Linked DNA regions of Homo sapiens: region 2 is linked to region 1. The links are contacts of gene promoters, found by promoter capture Hi-C in blood cells and fetal thymus (Javierre and others, 2016). All regions are on one chromosome and are shown on one strand. The core of a region is centred on a gene start or on the middle of the fragment in contact, and the rest is flanking DNA. Distances in the headings are between cores, read along the strand shown. Region 1 holds the start of PABPC1 (poly(A) binding protein cytoplasmic 1). Region 2 overlaps RRM2B (ribonucleotide reductase regulatory TP53 inducible subunit M2B).

Region 1 (4,609 bases), core at 664-3,163:
AAATTGGGCCGTAAAATGGAATTAAGCTGACTTCTCAAAGCCAATTGATCTAAAGACAAATCCTAGCAACTCAACAGACCACAGATATTATCTGTTTACAAAATTGTGTTTCTGTTAACTGTTTAGCTTCAAAATAAAAGCACAAAGTTAGCTGCATTTCCCCCATAAATTTCAAGCTCAATTTAATCTCCGTTATTTTGTACTCAGTCATTTCCCAAGATTTACAGGTATCATGGGCCACTTTTAAAAATAAAAGAGAAACTTGAACTTCTTGCATGCTACAGATAAGACTGGTCCAGTTGGAATTACACTAAAGTAACATTTTATAGCCAAAGTTGACTATTTTATAAAGAAAAGCCCCTCAAAACGACAGGAACTATTTCAGAAGGTAACATAATATACTCGAAAACCACCAGTACTGTGAATCTAAGATAAAATTTGACTAAAAATGGTCTAAGTTGCCTGAGAAAACTGGCCTTCAAAGTGGTCGGCTGCCACATCCCCTCCTCCCACTCTGCCCTTTTAATGTTAGAGAAATGCTTGATCTAGGGGAAACCCCAAATGCATGTCTCCGGTAAATTCCATTCCTAGATCCATCAGTCACTGATGAGTTCTGGGAAGTGGACTCACAAGCCTGAGGACCACCACCACACCACACATCGCCACAGGAACTTTATCCTAAGGCCTGGTGGCTCCCCCAGGCGACTGGGCCAGGAGCAGGAGCAGAAGCAGGCCTCGGGCCTGCGAGGTTACAGGGTTCAACACGTGGTATTTTTCGAGCACAGAACTGCACTTCCTCCCCAGGCTGGGGCGCCGGCAGGAGCTCCGGGTGGTGGGAGCGCCTCCACCTCTTACCCACGGAAGGAGCTCAGCGTTCAACGCCCCAGAATCCCGGGGCCACTGGCGGGAGCGCCGCGGAGGAACCGAATCTCACCCACCCTCCCGGCGCGTCATCACCCTAAAGTTTGAGAGCGTCTGAGGCCGAGAAAATGGTCGCAAAGGAGGAAGTAGCCGGGCGTGTGGCTGCCGGCAGCGCGGGTCCCCGCCGGCTCGGGAAACGCGGCTCCAGGGACCCCGGCGCCTTCCCGCCGGCCGTCGCGGGGTGACATGCCCTCCCGCCCCCCTCCCCGGGCCCGCCGGCCTACCCCGCCCGCCGCCGCCGCCCGAGCCTCATGGCCGCCCGCCCGCCCGGCCGACCGCGGAGCCCGGCGCTCACCGTCCGCCGGCTGCTGGAAGTTCACATACGCGTAGCCCAAGGAGCGGCGGGTGATCATGTCCCTGCAGACCCGGATGGAGAGGATGGGCCCGGCCGGGCTGAACTTCTCGTAGAGCATCGCCTCGGTCACGTCGGGGTGGAGGTCCCCCACGTAGAGCGAGGCCATGGGGTAGCTGGGGGCACTGGGGTTCATCTCGGCACGGCTGCCCGCAGGGCCACAGGCCGCGACCTTTCCGTGAGAGGAGGAGAGCGAGTGCCGGGGCTGGGGGCCGGAGCCGGGGGGAGGGGAGCGGGGAGCAAGCGCAGAGGGACAAAAATCAACCGGAATTGAAAACTACTCAACGGCCGCAGAACGGGGTCGATCCACTGCCGCTGGCTGCCGGCTGCCGGCGGGGAGCGAGGGTGGCGGTGTCGGGTCCGGGCAGCGGGAAGGCCTCGGTCTCTTGGTTCCTTCTTGGAGCTGCTGCGGGGCCGCGGGCGGGCGGGTCGGTCTCGGCTGCTTCACCGGGTTATTTTATAAAAGAGGAAGAAAAAAAATAAAAGTCTCCGGCGGGGGAGACGCGGATTTTTTGTAAATTTTTTTGGGGTTTTTTAAAAGATTTTTTTAGATTTTTTTTGGATTTTTTAATAATAAATGTGTGTTCCGAGCCCGGAGCACACACTCCGCACTCTCAGCACTAACCGCCGGGGAGAAGGGGAAGCACCGCCTCCTGCACCCTCTACTTATACCCCGCGCCGCACTCGCCCCGCCCCCGCGCGTCTGACGCCAGGGCCCCTACGCGAGCGTCAGCGCCGGAGTAGGAGGAGACGCGGAGGCCAGGGGGAGGAGGGAAGAGAAAACAGGAGGAAAGAGCAGAGAGGAAGGGAGAGGTGGCGGCGGTGGAGGCTGCGGTGTGGGGGTGGGGCTCGGGCGAAGGGGCGGGGCTTTTGCGCAGGCGCCGCGGCCGGGGAAGCGGAGCCCGCGCTGCGTCGCGTCCGTGGGGGTGGGGAGGACGGCTCGCGGGCGGTCCTCGGGGGTGTTGGCTGAGGCGTCCCCGCCTTCCGCCCCGCCCGCCCCTGCCTCCACCAGGAGGAGCGTTAACCCGTCACCGCGGCGGTGGGCGGTGCAAAGGGCTTCCGGGTTCCTCCGCGCTAACCACCCCCCACGTGCGCGGCCGCCTGTGGCCTCTTCCCGCTGCGGCCGGCCCGGCTCCTCTAGCCCCAGCTCCGGGGGACGCCGGGCACGGGTGAGCGGGCGTGGTCCCCTCCGGGCCCGGTTTCCGAAACGTGCGTAGATGGAGCCAGCGTGGCCCCCTGCTCTCTCCTACCCGGACCGCACTACGAGTCCCAGCCGGCACCGCCGCCACGCGCGTCGGCCGCAGAAGCGGTGCCTGCTGGGAGCTGGAGTCCCCAACGGCCGCGGCGCTCGCTGACACCAACTGGCTGCGCGGGTCCTGGCCGCCCGCTCCGGGACCCCCCAACCGTCCTGCGCGCTGGACCCCGGCACCGCTGGAGCTCCCGGCGCGGGGTTGGGGGGCAGGGAGAGAGAGGGGAGGGCCCCTCGGGTTCCTCGTCCTCTTCTTTTCCAGCCCGACCCTCCTCCGTGTCTTCACTGGACGTTGTCGTTGGTCAAAGTGGCTTTAATTTGGGATAGCTGTGTTGGGGGTCTTTGGTCACTTCTTACCTTAAGGTGCTAGGCTGGAATCATTGATTTGTGCTGCTTCTGCCAGACATTTCTTGGCGATAGAAACCAGGAGTGGAGAAAAGTGAATGTTTTTCCTGAAAGTACGGGTTTGTCACAATCACTACTATATGGCACCACAGCCCTGCAACCAGACAAAATTAGGAATAGTCTAAAACAACGTCCTTATAAATAACTAAAACAATTCTGCACATTAGTAGTGGGTTTTAATAGGAATGCTAAATTTAACGAATTGATAGTAATAAAAACCGGCTCTAGGAATGACATTAAATCAACATACAAATTCCACTCGAAAGTAGTAAAGTGCTTTTACAGTTTTTAAAGCACTCGCGTAAACATACTATCATTTGTTCCTGAGAGCAATCTGGTGTGGGAGGTGGAGCAAGTAGTAATAATTTTACTTTACTGTTACAGGAACAGTCTCAAAGAAGTTAAATGATTGCCCAATTTATTCCTTAATTCAATAAACTTTAATGGATGTCAACTGTATTGCTAGGTGTGGAATTAAGTACTTTATATCTTGTCTCATTTAATTAGAATTTAAACCAGTGGAATCCCACATAAATACTATTTTGCTCCTATTAAAAAGAGGATAAAATGTGACCGGGCGCGGTGGCTCACTCCTGTAATTCCAGCACTTTGGGAGGCTGACGCACGCTGATCACTTGAGGTCAGGAGTTCGAGACCAGCCTGGCCAACATGGTGAAACCCCGTCTCTACTAAAAATACAAAAAGTAGCCAGGCGCGGTGGCTCACGCCTGTAATCCCAGCACTTTGAGAAGCCAAGGGGGGCAGATCACGAGGTCAAGAGATCGAGACCATCCTGGCCAACATGGTGAAACCCCGTCTCTACTAAAAATACAAAAATTAGCTGGGCGTGGTGGCGCGCGCCTATAGTCCCAGCTACTCGGGAGCCTGAGGCAGGAGAATCGCTTGAACCCGGGAGGCGGAGGTTGCAGTGAGCCAGGATTGCGTCACTGCACTCCAGCCTGGTGACAGAACGAGACTCAAATAAATAAAAAATAAACAGTTGTTAGGCTTCCAGGGCAGCTTGACAGGCAGTGATGCCCTGGATGGTAAATGGAAGCATTCTCATCACTAGAAAAGTATATTAGTGCTTTGTAGGTGAATACATAGTTTGGGAAGGGAGCCAGTCATCAGGACGTCTATGCAGCTGTGGCTCTTGCACTTAGTAGATGTCATTGTCATATTTTATGGAGGTACAGTTGAGTATGTGCAAGGGAAAGTAGAAGCAAAGTCCATACCTGAGGACAAGGAGCTGCTATTTAATAGAATAGGAGAGAGAGTCAGAGCCCAGGAGGAAACAGGAGTGGGATCTGGAACTGAAACCAAGAACCTGTTCCCTTGATCCATCAATCACCTCTTTTTATTTCCAGCCAGCTGCTTTCGCTCAGATCAGAAACTGGTCAATTCAGATCAAAAAGAAAACAAACCAATCTTCTCTTAATGACATATTCCTCTCTCATTCACTTTTTTTTCATAGCCAAGCTTTTCATTTCTGCTTTCTCTCTCCTTAGTTCCTCAACACTACCGTATGACTTCCAGCTGCACTCAAATTGCCCCATCAACAGTTGCCAATGATCCCTGTTCTATTTGACAAATCCAATGGACTTTCTTCAGGTCCATTTTACTGGACATCTGCAGAGTTTGACACTGTTTTCCTCCCTCTCTTTTGTCACACACTCTCTTGG
Region 2 (4,687 bases), core at 949-3,448, 1.5 Mb after region 1:
AAATGCTATTCTAGCCTGATTCTAAACATTCCAGAGCTAAATCTGGCAATAGTTATGTTTTTAATTTCTGAAGAAGAATCATTTTTCTTATAAGGTCAACTACCATGATAACCTCCTGGTTTCCACTCCATAAGTAGGCTTCCCAAAGCAACTAACAACTAAATTTTCTTCACTACATACTAAGGAATTCAAAGAACTTATTCTTGCGTGAATGAGAATTATGTTCTTTTTAAGGAGATACTTATATTCTTCCCCTAAGCATTAAAAATACAAAGATCTAATTCTAGATCCTAGGACCTAGAATCACAATTATTTTAAGGAAATGAGAGTATTTTATTACAACATCATTGCAATTAATATTATCAATGAATGATAATTAGTAGTGGTGCTAACAGTAGTAGTGTTGGTTAAGCATTTATTTTTGCATCCTAATCCTAATATCCACTCTATGAATTTAGGACCTACTATTACTCCCATTTTAAAGATAAGTACACCGAGGTTTACCAAGATTAACTGACTTGCCAAGGGTCACACACTGGAGTAAGGGCAGAACCTTAGACTCATGTCTGACCCCTCGCCCCATGCTCTTAACCACATAATGCCATCTTTTATTTCAGTGACAAGACAAAAGCATTTAGGTCACACTCTTGTTGTTAAACAGGAAAATTATATAAATGCAAATTGTTTAGAATAGGTTTTGGATTTCCTTTTGAGCAAACCCCCAGTCCTTTAAAGGATATACTTAAAATTTTTTTTAAGCAGAGGAAAATAGACTACTATTTACCAATGACAAGTTTATAGAGTTTTAAAACGAGAGGTTTTTTAAAAATCTGCATCCAAGGTGAAGACGTTATCTGTGGTTTCTGCCATAACTGCAAAACGCTGATACTCTGAAACTCGTTTCTCAAAGAAATTTGTTTTTCCTTCTAAAGAAATGTTTTCCATAAAATCAAAAGGATTTTCTGCCTGAAAAACCTAAAAAGGAAAGAAATATTATTAGACATTCTGAAGAGATCAAATTACATCCACAATAAGAGCAAAGATGACCAAAACAGAGGTCAGGTTTCTCAAAACCTATCTAGTCAGCTACAAGATCATATCATTCCCCTAAGACCCTGGAGGTACTCAAGGCTGACAAATTTTAAGATGACCCAAGATCAACCACTAATCTCCTCAAGAAACTGTACTAGCATCTCTGGTATTCTAATAAATAGAAAAAAAAACACAACTATTTCAGGAATTGAAATATTTAATACTAACCAATAGAAAATGTTCTCACAGCTTGAGATATCCAATACACCATGAGCATTTTTCATAGATATTACTATTAGTCAGACATACATGATACTATAAAATGTTAAATTAGCAACAATCCACTGTGGTTCTAAGTATGTTTCTTAGTTTATAAGAGAACAGATAATCAACAAATTGTCATTAAGGGAACATGATCAGGGAAGACAGAATAAATGTTATCCATAGTGACTAGATGTCTCCAAACAAAAAGGGGGACTATGCTAACAAGAAGCTTTTTTACTGCTTCAGAATTCAAGAAACAAGGCCGAGCATGGTGGCTCATGCCTGTAATCTCAGCACTTTGGGAGGCCGAGGTAGGTGGGATCACCTGAAGTCAGGAGTTTGAGACCAGCCTGACTGACATGGTGAAACCCTGTCTCTACTAAAAGTACAAAAATTAGCTGGGCGTGGTAGCAGATGCCTGTAATCCAAGCTACTCAAGAGGCTGAGGCAGGAGAATTGCTTGAACCTGAGAGGCAGAGGTTGCAGTGAGCCAAGATCATGCCATTGCACTGTAGCCTGGGCAACAGAGTAAGACTCCATTTCAAAAAAAAAAGAATTCAAGAAGCAGACTTGGAGATACAGCTTGATGGAAACTGTGGGATATTTCAGTGATTCACAAGGAGTAACAAAAGAGGATTTCTCAATTTAGGAGTATCCCAGCAAAAAATATGAACACTACAGATAAACATATATTCAAGTAACCCAATTTTAAATATGGGCAGAGTGTCTAAATAGACAAACTGATACTTCTTTAAAGAAGATATACAAAATGAAAAGATGCTCAGCATCCTTATCCATTAGAGACATGCAAATCAAGATCACAATGAGATACCACTTCCCACCTACTCGGATGGCTATAATTTTTTAAAAAACAGGTAATAAGTGTTGGTGCGGATGTGGAGAAATTAGAACCCTCATACAGGGTGGGAATATAAAATTGTGCAGCTGCTTTAGAAAACAGTCTGGTAGTTCTTCTAATGATTAAACATGGAGTTACCATATGATCCAGCAATTTCACTCCTAGGTGTATACTTAAGAGATATGAAAACATGTCCACACAAAAATGTGTAAATGAACGTTCATAGTAGCATTATTCACAATAGATCAAAAGAGGAAACAACTTAAATGTCCATCGAATGGATAAATAAAATTTGGTATATCCATACAGTGGAATATTATTTATTTGGTCATATAAAGGAATAAAGCACTGATACATGCTACAACATGAATGCACCATGAAAACACACTAAGGAAAGAAGAGAACCACAAAAGGCCACATATTATATGATTCCATTTGTATGAAATAGAATATGCAGAATAGGCAAATCTACAGACGCAGAATAGGCAAATCTACAGACACAAAAATTAGATTAGTGGTTGCCTAAGGCAAGGTGGGTAAGGGGAGGAAAGAGGAGTGACTGACTGCTAATAGGGATACAGTTTCTTTATGGGGTGATAAAAATGTTCTAAAATAGGTTGTTATGATGGTTGTACAACTCTGTGACTACACTAAAAACTATTGAATTGTACATTTTAAATGGGTGAATTGCATGCTATGTGACTTAATCTTTAAATAAAGCTTTAAATATTTATGTATCTTTTTTCCAAAAACTCATATGCTGGGTGTGGCTGAGTGAAATTCTATGAAATTCTCCATCAGAAATTGTGTGTAAAAAGTGAGGGAATATTGGAGCTGTAATATACAGCAAGATACAGTGAAAGGGCACTGAACCAATAGCCATAGACTCACTAGATGTTAGAACTGAAGACTTTTCAAAAAATTAGATCTAAGTCATTCATGGCATGGACAAAGTAACCAAGACCAAAAAAACAAACTAAATTAAGTGGCTTGTTTTTGGTGGGTTTTTTTTTTGACACAGAGTTTCGGTCTTTTTGCCCAGGCTGGAGTGCAATGGCACAATCTCGGCTCACTGCAACCTCTGCCTCCTGGGTTCAAGCGATTCTCTCGCCTCAGCCTCCCGAGTAGCTAGGATTACAGGCACCCACCACCATGCCCAGCTAATTGTTGTATTTTTAGTAGAGACAGGGTTTCACCATGTTGGCCAGGCTGGTCTTGAACTCCTGACCTCAGGTGATCCACCTGCCTCAGCTTCCCAAAATTTTGGGATTACAGGCATGAGCCACTGTGCCCAGCCTTATTATTATTTTTATTTGTAGAGATAGGGTCTTGCTATATTGCTGAAACTAGTGTGGAACTCCTGGGGTCGAGCAATCCTCCTGCCTTGGCCTCCGAAGTGCTGGGATTATAGGAGTCAGCCACAAGGCCCAGCTCCTACAAGTTTTGATACATAGTAATCATATTGTCATTTACTTTATATTTTCAATTAATTTTTATTTTCATTTTAAATCTCATTTTAAAGGAGATACATGTATATGCAGAGAGAGAGAGAGAGAGAGCGAGAGAGAAAGGGTCTCACTCTGTTGCTCAGGCTGGAGTGCCGTGGCACAATCTCAGCTCACTGCAACCTCTGCCTCCCAGGCTCAAGTGATCCTCCCAGCTCAGCTTCCCAAGTAACTGGGACTACAGGCATGCCACCAGGCCTGGCTAATTTTTTGTAGGATTTCGCCATGTTGCCTAGGCTGGTCTCAAACTCCTAGACTCAAGTGATTCTTCCACCTCAGCCTCCCAGAGTTCTGGGATTAGAGGTGTGAGCCACCGCACCTGGCCTAACGGATATATTTTTAATCTCTAAGTAGATTAAGCTTTTTGGCAATTTTTAAATCAGTTTCTACTTTCATTGCATTAAAAATCTAAGGCCTCTATAATTTCTGCTTTTTAGAATTTACTCAGATATTTTGAAGCCTGTGGAAAAACAAAGTTTTACATTGTGTTTAGACCTTCTCCTGCAGGAGGTGGCATGTTTTACATACCTACAGTTAGCAAGTTCCCAAAAGGAAAATTAGACCCAAGGGTCAGCAGTTTTCTAATAAGCAGCAGAACATGAACGTGTGGATGTGAGGATATGGTAATGGGTTAAAGAATAGCGAATTCACTGTAAGGCTTAAATAAGCAAATTCATTTTCTAATAACAAAAATATTGGTAAAAGTTATGAACAAACACAATTTCTTTTAATATACATAGTTTATAAGTTTAAGAGATTATATTAATATAGTTATAATCTTGATTTCTCATTAATTAGTAAACACAGAGAGGATCTTGCAACTAAAATGTTAAAATGTAGTTTATCTTACCAAAAAAACCTACGCCCCACTTGACTTTTTCATTAAGTACCTGGGTGGTTATCAGAATATAATTCTGCTATATCTGCTAATACAACATTAGCAAGATAGGTAATGATTACCACAGCATCATAGATTTCATAAGGATTCTCATTAAAGATAATTTGAACTTACATTTTCATGACAAGA

Evidence for each region. Contacts are between HindIII fragments. The CHiCAGO score rates a contact against its expected background, and 5 or more counts as called.
Region 2: a contact is called between a fragment that was not itself captured here and the fragment with the promoter of PABPC1 in region 1, in 1 of 17 cell types (neutrophils). The highest score is 5.5, in neutrophils.

Annotation. Positions count from the first base shown.
Region 1 is chr8:100,720,175-100,724,783 of GRCh38, forward strand. PABPC1 (poly(A) binding protein cytoplasmic 1) reads right to left here and starts at 1,914. Exons shown (of 15, transcript NM_002568.4): 1 at 1,217-1,914. The coding sequence starts at 1,409. RefSeq lists silencers at 1,091-1,200, 1,881-1,960, 2,041-2,750 and enhancers at 1,153-1,985, 2,040-2,540, 2,541-3,041. The HindIII fragment of the contact is 6,173 bases long and covers 1-4,404 here.
Region 2 is chr8:102,207,311-102,211,997 of GRCh38, forward strand. RRM2B (ribonucleotide reductase regulatory TP53 inducible subunit M2B) reads right to left here. Exons shown (of 9, transcript NM_015713.5): 9 at 1-975. The coding sequence ends at 823. Among named protein-coding and RNA genes, the nearest start is that of RRM2B, 29 kb to the right of the region's middle. The HindIII fragment of the contact is 1,350 bases long and covers 1,524-2,873 here.